Linked DNA regions of Homo sapiens: region 2 is linked to region 1. The links are contacts of gene promoters, found by promoter capture Hi-C in human tissues and cell types (Jung and others, 2019). All regions are on one chromosome and are shown on one strand. Each heading gives the region's core, a stretch centred on a gene start or on the middle of the fragment in contact. The rest is flanking DNA. Distances are from core to core; before and after follow the strand shown. Region 1 holds the start of RELN (reelin). Region 2 holds the start of SLC26A5 (solute carrier family 26 member 5).

Region 1 (4,645 bases), core at 1,149-3,648:
GGAAATTGAGATTCTCCTCCGCAATGTCCAACTTGAAGTATTTACACTTTATTTCTACTCTATGTTATCCATTCCTTTTCAGACTTAGATATGTGATTATGGTGAGTCTTAAGGTGACTTGCATTTGCTATTCAAGGGTGCAAGGGAGCAAAACCAAAGGGTGTATGATATTTTGGTGTTTTTAGTTAAGTTTTCAATATCGAGACCTTCCAAAGGATGTGGAAAACAGAAAAAATAATAATAAAGCTTTGTATCATCACATGGTCTTCCATCATAACCTGACAGTCACGCCTTTGAGACCAGCCTCACTCACTTACCCACCGTTCTCACTGAGAGATCATACCGGGCAAGAACTTTTGCTAAGAGTCGCACGGAGCAGCAGGCTGTCAATCAGGCTTTGGGTTAGGTCTGGTTGCCATCACAGTAGCTGCTCCTTCCACTTAAAGATTCTCATTATCTCAGAAAAGCACTAGATTGTTCTTGGGAAGAGGGCGTAGTAAGCACTTTTATCTAAAAAGGGACTAGTTACAGAACATTAATTTTCCAAAATTATTTCTAAAATTCCACCAAATTAAACTTCTGCTTTACAGACAAGGCTGCCACCATGCCACAAGGAAGTTGTAAAAGCACTGTTTAAAACCTCTAGGAGACGTTTATTTAGGCTAAATATTTTATAATAGATATCAAGGTTTTTTTAAAAACAGAAAAATCTTAAGGATTCTTACAATTTTTAAATGCTTGTCTATCTTAAGTGCTAGCACCCCGTAGATTATCTCCCGCCATGCCAATGATTGTTAGCCTATTAGAGATAGAAACTATTAACAGGAGCCTACTGGACAATGGTTTCTATTTGGTTGGGTATAAATATTTTGGGGTTGAAATTCTAATTAAATAGTGCCTGTCGCTGCTTAAAAGCTCTATAGGCATGAAATGTTCAGAAGTCCCAGAAGAAATACAGAAAAGAGACATTTTTTATTTTTCCACATACTCGATGTACTAGCTTAAAATACATGTACTACATAATATTATATTTCTTGGAGCTAAATTTTATTTCTTCTGTAATGTTTATTTTTGATGCAGGGCTGCATAATGATTCCATTTTTAAGATACCTCTAAATTATAAGGGATTCCAGCCTCTACCTGGAAATTAAAGCTGTGCAGATAAAATACAAAGTCATTAATAAACATCACAAAGATAATTCTAACAAGAAGCACCATGTAAAAGTAAGGCAGGAATCAGAAAAATCATCAATTACTGACATATTAAATCACACTTTCAAAAGAATAGGGAGCTGGAAGCAGCCGCTCCCTTTCAGGAGGGCTGTATGACACTGAATGAAATGCCAGGGACTCCTGGCTGGTGAGCAGCGGGAACTTTGCGGTCGAGCGGCGCGGGGCAGCCACAGACCTGGGCGCTTCAATCTGTCACCAGCCTGCCCGCAAAGCCCAGCGACAGCCCCCAACGCCCCCCCGGGGACCCATCTGGGGGGACCGGGAGCAGGACAAAGGTCTGAAATCCAAGTCCTAGGAGTAAAGAAACAAAATGCGCAGGTTCAATTTAAAGTGCCTGCGGTAAGTACGGGGAGTGAGGGGGAAAGACACCGGCCTCCAAGAATTCTCAGGCGTTTAGCACAAGCACCAGCTCATTACCAGGAGATGCGTTCGGGGAGTGGGGACATGGAGAATGAATCCCAACTTGTGACTCCATTCTCCACTAACTTTATTCTCGCTCCCTGGACCAAGCGCATCGCTGGGGCCAGGGTTGTCATGGTTCTTGTTTCCAAGGCCCCTTGGAAGAAGGAAAGGGATGAGAAAGGTGCGCTGGCGGGCGCACCCGGCGGCGGCGAGCGCGGAGGTGCTGCGGTACCTACCATGGTATTCTTGTCCCGGAACGTAGTAGGTGGGGTTGCCCGCAATATGCAGGGAAATGAGCACCTCGCCCTGCTCCCCATCCCCTTCCAGCTCCCCGTGGTGGGTGCACAGGAAAAAGAAGGGCGAAAAGCGGGGGTAATAGCCAGCCGCCGCGCGCGCCCTCAGCGTCGCCCCCAGCAACAGCGCTAGGAGGAAAGTCTGCCGGGCCCAGCCACTGCGCTCCATGCCGCCGCCGCCGCCGCCGCCGCCGCGCGCCCTACGCGCCGCTCGCTCATTCAGTTTTGGAGACGCCGGGACGGAGGAGCCACGCGGAGAGAAGGCGAGAAGAAGGCGGACGGGAGCGGAACGGGCTCGGGAGCGGGCCTGGGAGCGGGCCCCCGCCGAGAAGTTCCGCGGGAGACGGCGGCTCCCAAAGTTACTTTGGGCCGCGGGAGCGCGGGACCGGGGCTGCGGGCGCCGAGAGCGCGTCGTCTGCCGCCTCCGTGCGCCGCCGCCGCCTCTGCGCGACGCCCCTCGGCCAGGCCTGGGAAAGCGCCCGCCCCGCTCCACACCTTCTTAAAGCCCCGGGCGCCGCGTCCCCCCCGCCGCCGCCACACGTGTCCCGGCCGCTCCCCCGCCCCCGCGCGCCGCCCCGCCCGCCCCCCGCCCTCTCGGGCTGGCTCGGCGGCACCTCGCGCGGCGAGGGGCGCACGCGTCCCCGGAGTCCCCGGCCAGCGCCCGGTTCGCACCCGGGAGGACAGGGAGGGGCGCCCGCCGGGGAGCGGGACGGGGACGCTGTCGAGGACCGCTGAGCCCGCGACTCTTCTGCGAGGGACGTCAAAGCCCCGCAGAGGGCACCTCCCGTCCAGCTGTCTGAAGGGGAAGGCCAGCCCCTTTGGCCGTCAGTGTGCCCTGTTTTTCCTGGGAGGATGCGTGAGGGAAGGAGAGGGGCGGCAGGGACGGCCGCTGGCGCCGGTTTCTTTGTCTGAGCCGGCTGCGTCCCGCGCCCCTCGGGGCTCGCAGTCTGCCAGTCCGGGCGGCCCGCACTCGTTCTGGGAATCCGCCCGAGGCCGCGAACCGCTAGGGGCCCTCGCGCTCCCTTCCCACCCAGGCCCCCTGTCCCTCCCGCCGCGGCCGCCCGGCCCCTCGCGGCAGCGACAGAGCCTCATCTGTAGAGGATTTTAAAATGAGATTAAGCGAAAGTGGAATTGGCAGACTCGAGTGGTGCCTGGAAATGGTGATTTGTGCTGCTCGGTTGTGGGGAATTGTAAGGCAGGAAGGGCTGGCGGAGCTAAGATCCGACAGGCTCTCTTCGCCGGACTGTTCTGTTATTCATTGCTTCTGGGCTCTTCAGGCAGAGATGGGTGTTGTAATTTTTTAAATCAGTGTTTATTTCCTTTAAATGTCGGTTATGACCAATGGCCCTGAAATCGGGGGAGGGAAAAACGTTCAGGGGAGATGCTGGCAGCGGTGATTGAAGCGGGTGGTAATGAGCGGCTGCACATGAACTGCAGGGAAGTGAAATAATCCATAAGCACGTTTTTAACCGAGGACGGCTGGCAGGAGCCCTGCGGCATCCGGAGATGGGGGAGCGGGGTTGCCAGGTTTTAATGCCTCTCCCCACCCACCCTTGGCTTGCCACCAAGCCAGATAAACCCGCACGTACAGAAATGAGTAGATTATAAAATTGGAAGGGATAGTGCCTTTGCCTGCATTTGTGGGGCGAGGGGCGGTGAAAATCAGGGTCCAAGGGGAGACCTCTGTAATCACTTCGTTGCAAAAGGAAGAAATTGTTTTTCTTCCTCTTACTGAGACCGAATGACAGGTAGAAAGGGCCCATTTCTAGCTGGCTTCTTGTTTCCCTTACTTCAAAATCCCCAGAGGCTTAACTGCCATATAAATAATATACAGTGTATACATATATGTATGTGCATATATATATATATGATGTGGTAACAATTGCTACACTGTAGCTCTGCGGGGTGCAGGCTGTGGGGCTAGACGTACTTTAGCTTTTTAATCCTAACACCAACTGGAGAGGCAAAAAATATCCCTATTTCACAAGGGAGGAGGCACTCAGAAATGTTGATAACTTGCCCAAAGTCAGTGACAAAGGCTGGATGCAGGGCAGACTGGCTGGCCTCAGAGGCTCTTGTCCTGCACTGCCCTGCCACAGTCGACAGCCCTAGCTGGAGCAGGTGGTGTTGCCCCAAACAGAATTAGGAGATACTCGCCCACAGCTAACAAGGCTGTTACTGCCTTCCTGTCCAGTCATGTGAATATAGCCAAAGACAAAATTAATCACTTGTAGAAAGAATCCAAAACTATTTAATGTTTTTGGCTTACACTTTTAAAATGTTTAGTTACTATGCACTGAGCACCGTCCTAAGTACTATACATACTAACTCCCTTATTCCTCATAACAATACTGTGGGAAAAGTACCATTGATAGCTTCATTTTACTATGATGAAACAGCACAGGGAGGTTAAGTAACTTGTCCAAGGTCACACAGCTAGTGAGTGCTGTGACTTGAACCCAGGCAGTCTGATTTTGACACACTAACCACTGCAAATCGCCTCTAAAGAATGCATGTTGGTGTTGTTAGAGGGATGGGGGAATAATTATTCTTCATCCAGTGTCAGAATACCTCATTTAATCCTTATATTAGCCTGCAAAGTAGGTATAATTATCTTCATTTTTAAAGAGAAGAAAGTTGAGATTCATAGAAGTTAAAGGAGCTTGGGATCAAGTCTGGCCATGCTTGATGCCAAGGTCGCTGCTTAAATAAACTGT
Region 2 (4,645 bases), core at 1,534-4,033, 540 kb before region 1:
TGTGAGAAAGATATAGTTCAATTTTTGAACTCAGCCATTCCCATATGTAGCAATTCATGAATACAAGTTTGCATATGAGAAATTGTGTCCAGAATGGGGCATCATCAGTAGTGGGAGCAAATCCTCTTAGAGCAGTTGCCTTGAAAAGAGCAAGAAAAGTAGAAAAATGAGAGACTCATAATGTTCAAGATAAGAGTTGATCTTGATCAATTAAAAACTTAATTAGGCTAATCTGTCTTCAGTCTTTTACAAAGAATACAATTATTCCTTCCCATTCACAGAATACTTACTCAAGGGGCCATGTATTTATTCTATTTGAAAGTAAATTAAGTCATATCCACTCAGTTTGTGAATTTACCCACATTGCTTCATTTCCCTTTCCCTCCATCTACCTATCCTCTGACTAATTCGCTGACCCGTTCTGAAGTGAGCTTTCATAACCTGGGCACCAGGAATCCTCTGAAAGGTGTACAAGATTTTGAATGGGTGAGCTTTTTTATTTTTTTTCTGGGGTAAGTCCCTAGTGTCCTCCAGATTTTGAAAGAGTCCTGTCCCCTCCTTCATAATCCTCTAGAATACAATTGTTTTCAAGGGTGAAGGTGGGGAGAAGATAATGATGTTGATAGTTGTTGGTACCTACAATAAAACATTTTATGAAGTTGGTCCTGGAACTAGTCTTCAAAAGAAGGATTAAAAGAGTTCATGAAATTGGATCTATCCTCCAACAGAATGGACTTACATAAAATGTACTCTGAGTCACAAAATGATTAAATTTATCCATGCTGTGTCTTTTGTGCAAGATTTCACTAGTTTGAAACCAAAAGAAAGGAAAATCATCATCTTATTTTTCTTAACTTTATTAACTTAATGATAATGAGAACACCTGGGAATACGGACGTGCTTCCTATTTATCATGATTTCCCTAGAAAACTGTTTCACTTGGGTTACTAAAATGCAGACTACCTGCAACGGTAGAAAAATTAAGATACCAGGGGGCAACACATGATATTTAGAATGAGATGAAAACTCAACTGACTTTGATCGTCAATTAAATAGGCAGTGCACACCTGCATCTACACCTCACAAGGCAATCCATTGATTGTTAGAAACTTCCTCAGTCTTCCATTCTTCTGTTCTTAGCAAAGCGCCTCTATGCGAAAAGCACTCAAATACTTGTTGGATTGAGTCAATTCTTTTGGTTTCACTCATAAATTAATGAGGAACGTGTAACTCTGTATAGTTTCAGAGTAGTTAAAGAGAGAAAAAAAGAAATGCTACATAAGAGAATTGGGGCTTCAGGTGTTACCTAATAGACTAGAAAGCTTTCCAAGAGTGCACTTAAGATATGAGCTATAGCAACCTTACCTAGGCAATTCTTCACCCTAAGTTTCTTTCTAATGCAAATTAGTTTGAATTTCTCTCTCTTCCCTCCTGTCCTTTGCCTGAAAGTCTTCTGATACAAAGCAATACTACCGTAATTAGAAGGAATGCCTGACAAAAATACATTTTAAATTTCATTTTCAAAAAGGTTGATACTTCGTATTGCATACTCCGAATTCCCCTGCATTTCTATGCTGTAAATTCCTAAACTTTAGATAATACATTTATATCTAGTGCACATTGTTCAGTTTTCAGATAGGAAAAAGCTAAATCTCAGTCTGTGCCCGCAAAAAGTTGATATTTTTTGTTGTTTTAAGAGTCTCCATGAATGTTGTTTAAATTCTAGAATCCACAGTACTCATCGAAGCTAGGAAAAGAATTTTGCCCACCCCACAGCGTATCTGAGGCTTTCTTCACAGCTAGCTGATCGGATCCTTGCAGCTGTTTCTTCTGTAGGTCTCGGAGCTCACTGAGAACGTCCAGCACGCCTTCCCGGCGGGGCCCGGCCCAGGTGCGCACTAGATGAGGCAGTCAACCAAGTCAATTGGTTCCCGATCAACTAAATCTCTCCTAAAAATAAACACTGCCGCGAGCTTCGAGAGTTCAGCGTGTCAGAGCCTCTATGATGGCAGAGCACCTGCCGCGATGCCTGATTGGTAGGGAGAAGGATTTCCCGGGAGGGGGCCAATACCAAATTTTAGGGCTGTTAGGCTCTGAGCAGTCCCTTCGTGACCGGATAAGTCAGAGACCCGGGGTTTGAGCCTTGCCCGGCGCTGAGCGGAGGGCCCAGTTTCGGGACCACAGCCTTGCTCCCTGGGAGCTCCGGGCGGCCAATGCCGGGCAAGCCCAGCCCGGCACAGGAGGAGGCAGGGCCCGTCTCCGGAAAGAGGGCCAGAGGCAGAACTGAGGGCCTGGTTTTGTGTAATTCGATTTGGATACAAACAGGCCAGACCCAAACTGGAAACGGCGAAGGGCTGGATTAGCACCGAAGGGATTCGAGGAGGCAAACGGGAAGTAAAAATGCTGTGTGGAGCTGCAGAGGGCAAGGGGACAGGGGTTGCAAAGGAAAGAGCTTCGTGAGACTTTCTCCTTCCCGGCGTAGGGACCAGCAGAGTGCGGGCAGGTCAGCCCTGTCACCGGTTCGTTTAGGGAAAAAGCGCGACATGGGGCCTGGGAGACAGGGGCAGAGGCGGTGACAGCGAGGGCCCCTGCTCGGGTGGGCCCGCGGGCCTCAGCTCAGTCCCCTCCCGAGGGACCGCGACCCCCGGCCCCGCGGCCGCCCGCGCGCACTCACCAGCCCGGGCTGCCCTGGGCGGAGCCGCCCCGCCGCGCTCCACAGCCGCTGCCTCTTCGACGCGCGCGCTGCCTCCAGGTGCGGCTCTAGGAGGAGGCGCCGCGGGCAGTGCCGGCCGCGCCCCGCGACTCCCGGTAACCCGAGCCCGCCCCGCCCCGCTAGGGCCAGGCCCCGCCGCCACCCTCCGCGCTGGGACGCCGGGGCGCGGGCATCCCTGCCGCCTACGGATCTCTTCCCAAGCACCTAGAACTTTCCAAAGCGTGCTTGGAATTTAACACCTTGGTCGTCGATCCCCGCAAATATACTCTGATGAGACCGGCTTTCTTCCCATACCGCCCAGGAGTTTCTCCAGGTGGCATTCCTGTCGCCTTGAGGTGGAACATCAGTAGAGGCTCGAGGCTGAAGCAAGCACAATACACAAGGTATAGCGTTCAAGTGGAAAACATTGCGTATTATGATTTTAAAATGAAAAAAAAACACAAAAAACCTGACTTATCTTTTCAATTACAATCATTATAGAGACTCCGATTCGTACAGGAACATTTCGAAAACAGGAAATCCTGAGGACAATGTGAGTATGAGTTTTTTTTTTTTTTTAATTTTCAAAAATCTTTGATGAACTGCCTTTGGTTAACACTTGGTTTGCAAATATTGACTATTGCACGACAAGGCAATGCATGATAAGTTATTTTCTGGGCATTTAAGTTAGAATTTATAAAACAACTTTTGCTTTTTATTAAGTAGAATAATGTAACACGTTACCCCAAGCTGGGAGAATTGCTTGAGTCCAGGAGTTTGAGACCAGCCTGGGCAACAAAGCGAGACTCCGTCTCTTAAAAAAAAAAATTAGATAGGAAATAGCTTGTTTTGCATCTAGCAACTGGGATACAAGAGAGCACCGCAGCCAGAGTGCCGGGCTCCAAGAGGGTGAGGGGTAGAAAATGATTTCAGATACATACTTCCCTCTGGCTTTATGCCTTAGCAAGGATTATAGTTGGTTCATTAAGAGCATCTTTTTTTTTTTTTTTGCTTTGTGCATTTCTGCGCGTGCACACTGTAGTGACACGTGGCGGACTAGCTGTTTGGTCTTAAAGCTGTAAATGCACGCCTGCAGACACCAGAGGCTTCTGCCAAGGAGACCCCACCTCCAGAACCTGGGCCAGGCCTTTGGCTGGGAGCGCTGGTGCTGTTCTTCATCCGAGAGGAAAGGCTAGAGATTCCCTCCCTACTCCACACGAGGGCGATCTCTTCAAGGGCACCAGACCACTCTCCGCGTCCCTAGCTGAGGAAACCAAATTTGCTTTTCTCCACGCTTTTGAACATCTCTAAACAAATCTTAATAGGGTAATTTACTAAGGAGGAGTTGGGCTCCTGGGACGTGCATTTCTGGTGTCCTTCATTTGCCACTTGGCCTTTGCCATCCTATGAAATTATTTTGTCACATACCTGTCTGTAGCCCAGTACTTCTTACACTTTAATGTGCATAGGAATCACCTGCGGATCCCGTTAAAAACGCAGATTCTGATTCAGTAGGTCTGGGGTGGGGTCTGAGATGTGCCTTTCTAACAGGCCCCTGGGTGATCCTGATAGGCTACTGGAGGACCAAACTTTGAGTAGCAACACTGGAGACAGTTGGATGATAAACTGGTTTTGCCGGTAGCACCAGGTACCTAATATACTAACACAATAATGGCAATGTTGCTAACACCTGTTCAGTGTTTACATGTAGTAGGCACTGTTCTGAGTACATGTATTTACTTGTATAGATATTGCTATTATTTCTGGTTTAGAGATGAGTTTGCTTTTAATATGAGTCTTCCCCACCCCCTACCCCCTTCCCATCCTTGCTGGCTTAATTACATTTATTTGGTATTAGAATATTAGGGAGAGTATCAGGAAGAACAGCTAGTGGATGCTAGACCTTAATACCTAGGTGATGGGGTTGACCTGTGCAGCAAACCACCATGACAC

The links. The method cuts DNA at HindIII sites, captures the fragments that hold promoters and counts their contacts. A contact is called where the count stands out against the background at its distance.
Region 2: a contact is called between the fragment with the promoter of SLC26A5 here and the fragment with the promoter of RELN in region 1, in 2 of the 25 tissues and cell types used here (mesendoderm cells and thymus).

The regions. Positions count from the first base shown.
Region 1 is chr7:103,987,260-103,991,904 of GRCh38, forward strand. RELN (reelin) reads right to left here and starts at 2,399. Exons shown (of 65, transcript NM_005045.4): 1 at 1,872-2,399. The coding sequence starts at 2,097. The HindIII fragment of the contact is 8,012 bases long and covers 88-4,645 here.
Region 2 is chr7:103,443,424-103,448,068 of GRCh38, forward strand. It overlaps SLC26A5 (solute carrier family 26 member 5), which reads right to left and starts at 2,784. Exons shown (of 20, transcript NM_198999.3): 1 at 2,675-2,784. SLC26A5-AS1 (SLC26A5 antisense RNA 1) reads left to right here and starts at 1,784. Exons shown (of 4, transcript NR_110141.1): 1 at 1,784-3,096; 2 at 3,194-3,245. RefSeq lists an enhancer at 2,157-2,733 and a silencer at 2,790-2,859. The HindIII fragment of the contact is 9,476 bases long and covers 1-4,645 here.